4 separate regions of the Homo sapiens genome follow, and regions 1, 3 and 4 are each linked to region 2. Evidence: promoter capture Hi-C in 16 types of primary human blood cells and fetal thymus (Javierre and others, 2016). All regions are on one chromosome and are shown on one strand. The core of a region is centred on a gene start or on the middle of the fragment in contact, and the rest is flanking DNA. Distances in the headings are between cores, read along the strand shown. Region 1 overlaps NMNAT2 (nicotinamide nucleotide adenylyltransferase 2). Region 2 holds the start of LAMC1 (laminin subunit gamma 1). Region 3 overlaps LAMC2 (laminin subunit gamma 2). Region 4 overlaps NMNAT2 (nicotinamide nucleotide adenylyltransferase 2).

Region 1 (2,750 bases), core at 26-2,525, 230 kb before region 2:
AAAGTCAATCTAGTCCCTAGGCAAGAAGGAGGTCTGCTTTGGGAAAGGGCTGTTGTCCTCTTTTTTAAACTATAAACTAAGTTTCTCCCAAACTATAAACTATAAACTAAGTTTCTCCTGAAGTTAGTTCAGCCTACACCAGGAACAAGGACAGCTTGGAGGTTAGAAGCAAGATGGAGTCGGTTAAGTTAGATCTCTTTCACTGCCTCAGTCATAATTTTGCAAAGGTGGTTTCAAGGGCAGTGCATGCATTGAAAGGCAGTGAGCTGGTCTCCAGTGAGATCTCACAGGCAGGGCTCAGATGCCTTTTAGAATCTACGTATGTGGAGGCGTATATGAATTTTTACAAATAGTTCGTTTGGGTCTGACACCTAGACTATTGTGTTAGGAGAGAACAGGAAGTAGGCAGACCAAGGCTGGAAAAAAACTGTGCAGAAGCCAAAATGTGTCACTGGAGTCCTTTATACCTGTTGGTGCCTCTCCTCCATGGGCTCCTGTAGGAAGGAAAAGATGCAGTGAATCCCAAAAATCCCTGGAAGAGAATTCATACTCTTGAGGCCAGCATGCAGAGGAACCCAAAAGGATAAACTAAGGATAGTTCTAAGAGGAAAGCTTCTAACAATAATTGCTCCCATTAAAACAGAAGAAAGACCCCAAATAAATTGCCTAGCATTATGCCTTAAGGAACTAGAAAAAGAAGAACAAACTAAACCCAAAGGAAGGAAATAATAAAGATTAGAGCAAAACTAAATAGAGAATAGAAAAACCATAGAAAAAATTAATAAAATGAAGAGTTGGTTTTTTGAAAAAAAAAAACAAAATTGACAAACCTTTATCTAGACTGAAAAAAAGACTCAAATATATAAAATCAGAAATGAAAGTGTAGACATTATAACAGATGTCTCAGAAATAAGATGGATCATAAGGAATTATTATGAACAATTATATGCAAACAAATTTGGTAACCTAGAGGGCAGGGATAAATTCCTTTAAAAAGATAATCTGGCAAGATTGAATCAGGAATAGCCTGAACAGACCAATAACAAATAGATTGAAGTAGTAATTAAAAACTTCCCAACAAAGAAAAGCCCAGGACCAGATGACTTCAGAGCTGAATTCTACCAAATTTTCAAAGAATAATTAATACCAATACTTCTTTTTTTAGACAGAGTCTCACTCTGTCGCCCAGGCTGGAGTGCAATAGCGTGATCTTGGCTCACTGCAACCTCCGCGTCCCGGGTTCAAGTGATTCTCCTGCCTCAGCCTCCCAAGTAGCTGGGATTACAGGTGCCTGCCACCACACCCAGCTAATTTTTGTATTTTTGGTAGAGACAGGGTTTTACTATGTTGGCCAGGCTGGTCTTGAACTCCTGAGCTTGTGATCCACCCACCTCGGCCTCCCAAAGTGCTGGTATTACAGGCATGAACCACTACGCCTGGCCTATACATTTTAAACTCTTCAAAGAAATACAGCTGGAAGGAATACCTCCTAGCACATTCTACGAGGCCAGCATCGCCTTTGATACCTAAGCCAGATAAAGACACCAAAGAGGCCAGGCACAGTGGCTCATGCCTGTAATCCTAGCACTTTGGGAGGCCAAGGCAGATCGATCACTTGAGGTCAGGAGTTCAAGATGAGTCTGGCTAATATGGTTAAACCCCATCTCTACTAAAAATACAAAAATTATCCAGGCATGGTGGCACGTGACTGTAATCCCAGCTACTTGGGAGGCTGAGGCAGAAGAATCACTTGAACCCAGAAGGCAGAGGTTGCAGTGAACTGAGATCATGCGCTGCTGCACTCCAGCCTGGGCAACAGAAAAAAAAAGACACCACAAGAAAAGAAAACTGTAGGCCAATATTTCTGATGAGCATTGATGTAAAAGTCCTCAATAAAACATTAGCAAATTGAATTCAACAACACAACATGAAGCTTATACATGATGATCAAGTAGGATTTATCCCTGGCACACAAGGCTGGTTTAACATATGCAAATCAGTCAGTGTGATACATCACATAAATAGACTGAAAGATAAAACCACATGACCATATCAATTGATGCAGATAAAGCATTGGACAAAGTTCAACATCCTTTCTTGATAAAGATTCTTAACAGTTTAAATATAGAAGGAAAGTTTCTCAACATAACGAAGGCCATTTTTTAAATTTTTTAATTTTTTTATTATTTTTTTTGAGATGGAGTCTGGTTCTGTCACCCAGGCTGGAGTGCAGTGGCACAATCTCTGCTCACTGCAACCTCCGCCTCCTGGGTTCACGTGATTCTCCTGCCTCAGCCTCCTAAGTAGCTGGGATTACAGGCACACACTACCATGCCCAGCTAATTTTTTGTGTATTTTTGGTAGAGACAGGGTTTCGCTATGTTGGCCAGACTGGGCTCGAACGCCTGACCTCGTGATCTGCCTGCCTCAGCCTCCCAAAGTGCTGGGATTACACGCGTGAGCCACCACTCCCGGCAAGGCAATTTATTTTATTTTTTTTAAAAAACCCACAGCTAACATTATAATCAATGGGGAGAAAATGAAAGCTTTTCCTCTAAGACCTGATATAAAGCAAGAATGCCCACTATTCCCACTTCCATTCAGCAAAGTACTGAAAGTACTATCAATAGCAGTTAGACAGCCAGGCACGGTGGCTCACACCTATAATCCCAGCACTTTGGGAGGCGGAGGCAGGTGGATCACTTGAGGTTAGGAGTTAGAGACCAGTCTGGCCAATATGGTGAAACCCT
Region 2 (2,707 bases), core at 50-2,549:
TCTTAATTAAGGCTGAGCAGCTATAAAGAACAATAACTTCAAAAGTGAATTTATGTTTTAATTACACATAGGCAATATAGGCAGCGAAGGCATTTGCTCCCCTCAAATTCCCCCTTAACTCAACAGAGCAATCACCCTCAGCCCTGGAAGGACATCTAAACATTTTAAAGGCGAAAGTGTTTAAGGCGGACCTTCTTGTTTCCGATCCAAGAATGCGCTGTGATGACCTTGCTAGCAAAGAGAAAAGTGGGGATGGGAGTTTCTGATTAACGCTTCAGAAAAAAAAGGGGGAAATCACAATCCTAACAGCCGAAATGCAGAATAATCAGAGAGCCAGAATCCCGTTAAGTCAGAAAGAACAGGAAAGCAGAGAGACTCGTGCGGAACATCCTGGCCCTCACGGGATGTTAAAAGCAGTATCTATTTAAGAAGTTGGAGAAAGGAGTTTCTGTGTGGCCCATGCCGGGGAACAGAGAGCAAACACGCGGCCGTCTGCGCCCGTGAGGCCGGCCACTGGGACGGAGCCGGTCCGGGAGCTGGGCTGCTGGCGAGCAGTAGCAGGGGACGGGGCTGTCACCGCTTACCCAGGTGCAGCGTGAGGTTGATGGAGCTGGGGTACTGCACCCCGGCCAGCATGGTCTGGCTTTGCCACCAGGTGGTGTCGGCCTGGTTGTTGTAGTCGGTCAGGAAGGCTGCCCCGTGCTGCAGGTGGGGCTGCCCGGCGTCGCACAGGTGACAGGACTTGGTGACCCCGGTCACCCCGGTCTGCACACAGTATTCCTCGGGCGGAGTCCCACACGTGTTGGTGGCCACCACAGTCACGTTGAAGGCGGCGTTGACGAACTCGGGCATGCAGCGCTGCGGCCGCCCGCCCTCGTCCGTGCACTCGTCCATGGCTGCCTGGGCACAGCCCGCCGCGGCGGCCGCCGCCAGCACGGCCAGCACGGGCCAGAGCCGCCCCCGGGGCCGCAGGGCCGGCGCGGCCCGATGGCTCCCTCTCATCCCGCCGCCCGCACGCTGGGTCACGGCGAAGGCAAGGGCACCGGCGCGTTCCTCTCGCCTAGCGGCGTCCCCCGGAGGCCGCTTCGCTGCTTGAGCCTGGGGGCCCAGGGGCCTGACTCCGGCGCGGGCGGTGGCGGCGGCTCGCGCCGGAGAGACTGACGGGTGGGCGCCCCTAGCGAGGACCGCGCTGCTCGCCGACCACTGCCCCCGCGCGCCGCCTCCGCGCTTCCCTCACCTACCCCGGGAGCAGCCTGCACTCCGCGCCGACCCCCGACTTCCGAGCGCGTGCCCGAGTGCGCGCCCCCGGGGAGGAAGGAGCAGGGGGTGGGGTCGGCAGGGTGGGGTGGGGTCTGGGCGAGGAGAAAGCCCAACCCTGTCTCCTCTCAGCAACTCCCGCGGCCCCTGGGGCAACTCCCCGGCCCACCGCGCCCCATGGACTGCGCGTCCGCCCCGGCGACTCCAGGAGGCGGCGGGGGCGGGAGCAGCGGCGTCTCGCGCTCGGGCCCGCGGCGCGCGACCCGGGGGGAGGGGCGCGCGAGGTGGGCGGGGAGCCGGGGGAGGGGGTTGGGGGAGGGGAGGGGAGAGGAGGGGAGAGGAGGGGAGGGGAGAGGAGAGGAGGGGAGGGGAGGGCGGCTGGGTGGTGCATGCCGGGAGGGAAGGGCGGCCTCGCAGACCCGCTCCCCGCGCGGGAGTCGCTGGGGTCCTTGGGCTCCGCGGCCTGGGAGACTCCGGATTGCGGGAGGAGTCGGGGGAGGGCGCCTTAGAGGGGCGATGCCGGGTCAGGAGGTCGCTCGGGGTCGTCCCTGGGGCCTCGCGCCAATTTGGGCTGCGGCAAGAGGGTCCCCGCCCGGCCAGGTGTGGGTCCGAACCGGGAGCGCCCGCTGCTGCCCGGGGCCCCGCTCCAGCCCCTCCCGAACAGAGGTCCCGGGGCGTTCATGGGGCCGACACGGTCCCTGGAGAATCAGAAGGGCCTGGTCGCAGCAGCCAGATGAGTTTCGTGAAGCGATTTCCTGCCGCTGATTTAAAGTGTAACCAGTCGTTTTACCGGGGCAAGGAAGGAAGTGAAAAGGCTGGGAATGGAATGAATTTTTCCCTTGGGTACGCACGACCCACTGCGAAATTCTTCCACTGTGTTGTTTGTGTTCCTCGGCTTGCCTTTAAAAGACTCGAAATTATGTGGATTCTGACATCCTCCTTTTCGGGCCTGCTGAGTCACGGAATATTCTCAGTGCCAGAATGACTCAGTTCACAGAACCTGAGCCAGAAGATCATGAGTTTTAGTCCCGGAGCAGAACCTGGGCGCTTACCCAGTGCTGGATACGGCAAGCAGAGACCAGGGCAGGGAGGCAGCAGCTTGAAACCCTTGGCGTCCCCAAGCAGAGAGGATGCACATAGTGAATGACACGGATTTGTTTTGTTCTAGCTTTTCAGGAATTTAATGATAAAGTGCGGATAATAAGTACACCGCAAAAACAAAACAAAAAAACACATGCATAATTTCGGACCCAGTTGTCCCATTAAGATAGGCGTAATGGGAATCTGAAACAAGGAAATAAGTATATGTTAGGTGACTCTGGATAGTTAGGGTTAGTTAGACGCAGACTGCTGATTAGGAAAACCTTAAGGATAATGTTCTGGTAGGATGAAGAAGGGAGGGGAATCTAGGGTCTTGTTACACGGCTGAGCTTACTTAGCAAGTTATGTT
Region 3 (2,700 bases), core at 159-2,658, 220 kb before region 2:
ATCTGACTAGATGTTATTTTATTTCCAATTTAAAATAAAATCACGTTTGTTCAAGCATGTGTTACCCTTAGACTATCTAAAACTAATGTCAGTATGAAGGGTACCTGGCCAGACCCATTTAGTTCAAATAGGTTTGAGTGGCCTTGGTCAATTCGAACTCAAGGTCAAGTTGCCTCACATATGTGAGCTGAAGTGATAGTATTTGACTGCATGAGTTTATTATACCTAGAACAATTAATCTCATATTGCTCCAGGACTTAAGAGAGCACACAGAGTAGAAACAACACTGTAACAAAAATGTTGATCCAAATGGATCTTTCACTTGGGGTCAGGGAGAATTTAGGAATTTAGGATTTTACGACATGCAGAGGAAGTTAAGTAAGCTTGGGAACAAAATAACCTTGTCTATGGGAAGGTGGCATGAGTTACTAGAAAAGAACACGAGCATTGGAGGCAAAAAGATATCAGTTTGGATCCTGCCTCTACAATTTACTACATGACCTGTGGGGCATTATTAACCTCTGAGCCTCAGTTCAGTCCTTCATGAAATAAAATAATAAAAATGATAAAACCCACCACAGAGGACTTTTACAAGACAAATGATATTACACCATGAAAACATCTGACACATAGTAAATGTTTAATAGCTTCCATCTACCCTGCTCTCCCTACTCTCTCATATTCTCTTTACAGGTCTCATTAGTTTCATTGCCTTTCTTTTTTTTTTAGAACACTAAACAACGCTGCTAAAGTCTCAATTGGGAAGGTTTTGTTTTCCTTTGTTTTGTTTTTTCCTTTTTTTTTTCTCAATCCTTTGAGGGCATTTTACTCTTTTGGGCTCATTGGATCACAAAGCAGACCCAAGACTATAACAACACAGATGACATTGGCATCTCAGGGTGATGATGACACCCTACAGAAAAATCCAGTTTCGAAGTTGTTCTACTGAACTGGAATAGCAGAGCCAAACATTTTCCTAAATGTTACTGGAATCTGTGACGAATCTCTAGTTCCACATCTGCTGCAGTCCAAGCTTGATAAAACAGACCAAATGAGGGTTTGATATCAGCTCTACCTAAATCCAGAAATTTAACCAAAATAAGTTTTCTTTTGGGAGCGATTCTGTAGGGAAACCTGATTTTCTTCCACGCTGTGCCATCAGATCTTCCTAAAATTATCTCACAGGCCTACTCTCATCACATTTCTTCTGGGTTATTTACCCAAGCAGCTCAAGTTCCTCCCACTGGTTACATCAAGGTATAACTTTGGTTTGGGGAGGAACAAATGTAAAATCGGCAAGTGATTCTTTTTTATTTTTCCTTTTTTTTTTTTTTTTGAGACAGTCTTGCTCTGTTCCCCAGGCTGGAGAGCAGTGGTGCAATCTTGGCTCACTGTAACCTCCGCCTCCTGGGTTCAAGCGATTCTCCTGCCTCAGACTCCTGAGTAGCTGGAATTACAGGCGCCCACCACCACATCCAGCTAATTTTTGTACTTTTAGTAGAGACAGGGTTTCACCATGTTGGCCAGGCTGGTCTTCAACTCCTGACCTCGGGTGATCCACCCGCTTCAGTCTCCCAAAGTGCTAGAATTACAGGCGTGAGCCACCACACCCGGCCGGCAAGTGATTCTTGACTTCACAGACTGGGAAAATCTTCCTTCACATCTTCCCAGCCACCATTCTACTGCCTTAGAGCAGGCTCCTGTCATTTCTCTCTTCAATTATTTCAACAATATCTTAAGTAGTCTCAACCTGCCTTCTCTCTAACCCCCTCTTCAAGCTTTCCTCCACTCGGCTGCCCTAGTGATCTTTCTGAAATATACAGTGGTGATGTTATTCCTCTGCTTAAAACTGTCCACTGGCTTCTCAGGGTCCAGGCCAGACTCTTTAGCAGGATTCCCAAGCTGTCTCGTGTTCTGTGAAGTTGCTTATATACACCTGTTCTTTGGCCCACAGACCTTTACCCCCAAGTGCAATAGGTGTTCAGTGACCCATCTTAGCAACGGTAAAACAGGGTCCAGTAAATGTAAGGGAACCTGCCGAAAGTTATCTGGGCCTGGAAACAAAGCACATTTACTGATATCCTTAAGGAAAGCTGAGACTCCCCTTTGCTGGGGCTAGGTATAGTGAGTGTTCTGGAGCAAAGCCCTGGAGCATGGAGCTGGAAGGTTGTGGGTTGTGGGTTCACATACCCATCAGATGCAGGAGGCCGTCTAATGTGTTGAGTGTGTCTTGGATTGTAACCCCAGCGTTCTTGGCTCTGGTATCAACCTTCTGGGCTTCTGTAATCACCTGAGGACAAATAAGCACAAACCAGCCTTGAAAAGGTATTTTCCATTTTGGCAAGTTGAAAGGGATCTCCCGTGGAAAGCAACAGGAACTCACCATCTGTACTGCATCCATATTCGTGTCAAACTCCAGCTCCTTCCTTTCCAGCTCTCCTTCCACTTCCCTCATCTCACTCTTCAGAGAGGCCAGTCCCTTTTCCATGGCCAAGGCTCCATCTGCTGTCACATTGGCTTCCAAGTTCAGACTCCCAATCTCCTGAGAGAAGAAAAGGAGCCAGGGACGGAAGGAGAGATAGGGGTGAGGCACAAAAACATCCCAAAGACAACCATAGAAAAAATACAGCGGCAGCCGGGCCCTGATGGAGTAAATTAGATGAATAATGAGAGAATCAGACTTAGGGACAGGGGTACTTT
Region 4 (2,700 bases), core at 54-2,553, 250 kb before region 2:
TGAAGCAGACTCCCAAGCTTGCTTCAGAGGGCTTTCTAGAGCCTGGAGCAGACCTGCTTCCCCACCCTGCCAGCCAACTGCTCAGTCCCCTGCCTCAACCCACAGCTGATCTGCGAGGTCCTTAGAATCATTGAGTCTGAGACAGGGAAAAATTTCAAGAAGCTGTTTCCTCACATAATGAGTGTGAATCTCAGTCTATGACAGAGGTGTGCCGGAAATATCATGTTAATGTATTTAAATCAAATTAACATTCCACTCCAAATCCCTATCCCACAGGGTAATTTTAGTCTCAGCCATTATTAATTAGCAGACCTGAAAGGCTCTTGCACACCCCGAACATGAGGACAGGACTTCAATCTCAGTTCACCATGGTCACCACAGACATCTTCCCTGTCCAAGCCTTTGTGGTCCCTTGAAGTCAAAGGTGCCCTGCTCCACACCCACCTGGGGCAGGAACTCCTGGCTGAGTCTGGAGGCCTCGTGCTGGGCCCCATTGTGATCACCAGGCCCGTTCTCCTCTGAGGTTTTGCCCCTAGTGTGCTGCCCAGGAGAGAGGAGGAGTGGGCTCCACAGACCTCTAGCATCTTCCTATTGTAGGGAAAGTTGGTGGGAGGGCAGCAGAACCTGTTCTTTGTTCTTTCTATCCCCAAGTCATCTTCCCTATTTTCTCTCCCCGCTTCAGGACATCTAATGAAATGTCTTTTTTTTCTTTTTTTTTTTTTTAGAGACAAGGTCTCACTATGTTGCCCAGGCTGGTCTCGAACTCCTGAGCCCAAATGATCCTCCCACCTCCGCCTCCCAAAGTGCTAGGATTACAAACCTGAGCCACTGCACTAGGTTCAAAATTTCTTCAATGAGTTTAAAGGCATTGACTTCAGGCCAGGCGTGGTGACTCACGCCTGTAATCCCAGCACTTTGGGAGGCTGAGGCAGGTGGATCACCTGAGGTCAAGAGTTCGAGACCACCCTGGGCAACATGGTGAAACCCCATCTCTACTAAAAATACAAAAAATTAGCCGGGCATGGTGGCGGGCACCTGTAATCCCAGCTACTTGGGAGGCTAAGACAGGAGAATCGCTTGAACCCGGGAGGCAGAGATTGCAGTGAGCAGAGATCGTGCCATTGCACTCCAGCCTGGGTGACAGAGCAAGATTCTGTCTAAATAAATAAATAAATAACAAATAAATAAATAAAGTTATTGACTTCAGAGCATTCTGGTTTTGTCCTGCAAATTCCTCCTGTAAAAGATCTGGCTGTCTGCTAGAAATAGAGCTGGCCAGCCAGGCGCAGTGGCTCACACCTGTAATCCCAGTGCTTTGGGAGTCTGAAGTGGGTGGATCACTTGAGGTCAGGAGTTTGAGACAAGCCTGGCCAACATGGTAAAACCCCATCTCTACTAAAAGTACAAAAATCACCCAGGCGTGGTGGTGCATGCCTGTAATCCCAGCTACTCCGGTGGCTGAGGCAGGGGAATTGCATGAACCCAGGAGATAGAGGTTGCAGTGAGCCAAGATTGTGCCACTGCACTCTAGCCTGAGTGACAAGACTCCAAAAAGCAAAAAAGCAAGAAAGAAGGGAGGGAGGGAGGAAGGGAAGGAAGGAAGGAAGGAAGGAAGGAAGGAAGGAAGGAAGGAAGGAAGGAAGGAAGGGAGGGAGGGAGGGAGGGAAAAGAAAGGAAAGAAAGAGAGAAAGAGAGAGAGGAAGAAAGAAAGAAAGAGGAAGGAAGGAAGGGAGGGAAAAAAGAGAGAAAAAGAAAGAAAGAAAGAGAAAGAAAGAAAAATAGAGCTGGCAGAGGAGGGTGTAGGCAGCACAAAATTACTTAGCACCTCAGTGAATTAGTCCACTGCTCTTATTTGGGGAAGGTTGGATCTCAAGGTCTGGAAAAGGAACATCTTTCAGGAGTGGATACAGAATGAGCCCTGCTTATTGTACTAGCAAGTTCTACCATCTGGGGTTTGCCTGGAAACGCCCATTTTAGGAATTTCAGTTCCTAACCATGAGACTCCTGGAAGCGAGATATGTGAGACCTGCTTCTGTTTCAGGTTTCATTCGTTTGCCCATTCATTCATCCCTTTCTCAGAGCACATTTCTCTTTATTATCGGGTGCCCCGAGTGATACTTGTTGACCACAGACTTTGCTTGGAGACCATGAGGCCAAAACCCTGAAATCTGCTGTTAAAAGAATAACTTCAGCTGAATTACATTTAAAAGAGTTTAATTGAGCAATGAACAATTCACGAATCAGGCGGCATCCCATGCCAGAGTAGGCTCTCAGACTCCAGCGCAGCCATGTGGTAGAAGTTTTATGGACAGAAAAAGGAAGGTGATGTACAGAAAATGGAAGTGAAGTACAGAAACAGTCTTATTTGAACACAGTTCGAACAGCTGGCTACATTGATTGGCCAAAACTTGGTAATTGGCACAAATGTAAGCTAAAGCCTGTTTACACCTCCACTTGTTATAGTTCACCATGTACACAGAGAAATCTTTAGGCCGAACTTAAAATATGCAGGGAGGCAGCTTTAGGCTAAACTTGATTTAACACTGCCCATGACTGGGGACAGAAGGGCAGGAGGGAGATCAAAGCTTTTTCTAGGAAATGTCCTAGGCCCCGGCCCCGCACTCCAGCCTCTCATATCTTCTCCAAATATCTTCAGAAACAAGGCAGGAGGGATGCCACTGGTTCAAATGGGTCTGGGGA

What was found. Contacts are between HindIII fragments. The CHiCAGO score rates a contact against its expected background, and 5 or more counts as called.
Region 1: a fragment that was not itself captured here is called in contact with the fragment with the promoter of LAMC1 in region 2 in 1 of 17 cell types (endothelial precursors); the score reaches 8.6 in endothelial precursors.
Region 3: a contact is called between a fragment that was not itself captured here and the fragment with the promoter of LAMC1 in region 2, in 1 of 17 cell types (endothelial precursors). The highest score is 5.5, in endothelial precursors.
Region 4: a contact is called between a fragment that was not itself captured here and the fragment with the promoter of LAMC1 in region 2, in 1 of 17 cell types (endothelial precursors). The highest score is 14.9, in endothelial precursors.

Annotation. Positions count from the first base shown.
Region 1 is chr1:183,255,853-183,258,602 of GRCh38, reverse strand. The region is part of intron 10 of NMNAT2 (nicotinamide nucleotide adenylyltransferase 2); the gene reads left to right. It also overlaps a transcript of LAMC2 not described here. Among named protein-coding and RNA genes, the nearest start is that of LAMC2, 71 kb to the right of the region's middle. The HindIII fragment of the contact is 1,321 bases long and covers 615-1,935 here.
Region 2 is chr1:183,022,012-183,024,718 of GRCh38, reverse strand. LAMC1 (laminin subunit gamma 1) reads right to left here and starts at 1,299. Exons shown (of 28, transcript NM_002293.4): 1 at 585-1,299. The coding sequence starts at 1,002. RefSeq lists enhancers at 383-936, 1,492-2,046, 2,047-2,602 and silencers at 891-1,030, 1,051-1,120, 1,171-1,560, 1,591-1,980. The HindIII fragment of the contact is 7,676 bases long and covers 1-2,707 here.
Region 3 is chr1:183,239,882-183,242,581 of GRCh38, reverse strand. It overlaps LAMC2 (laminin subunit gamma 2), which reads right to left. Exons shown (of 23, transcript NM_005562.3): 21 at 2,384-2,542; 22 at 2,191-2,290. Among named protein-coding and RNA genes, the nearest start is that of LAMC2, 55 kb to the right of the region's middle. The HindIII fragment of the contact is 745 bases long and covers 1,036-1,780 here.
Region 4 is chr1:183,272,790-183,275,489 of GRCh38, reverse strand. All of the region lies in intron 8 of NMNAT2 (nicotinamide nucleotide adenylyltransferase 2), which reads left to right. Among named protein-coding and RNA genes, the nearest start is that of LAMC2, 88 kb to the right of the region's middle. The HindIII fragment of the contact is 2,568 bases long and covers 20-2,587 here.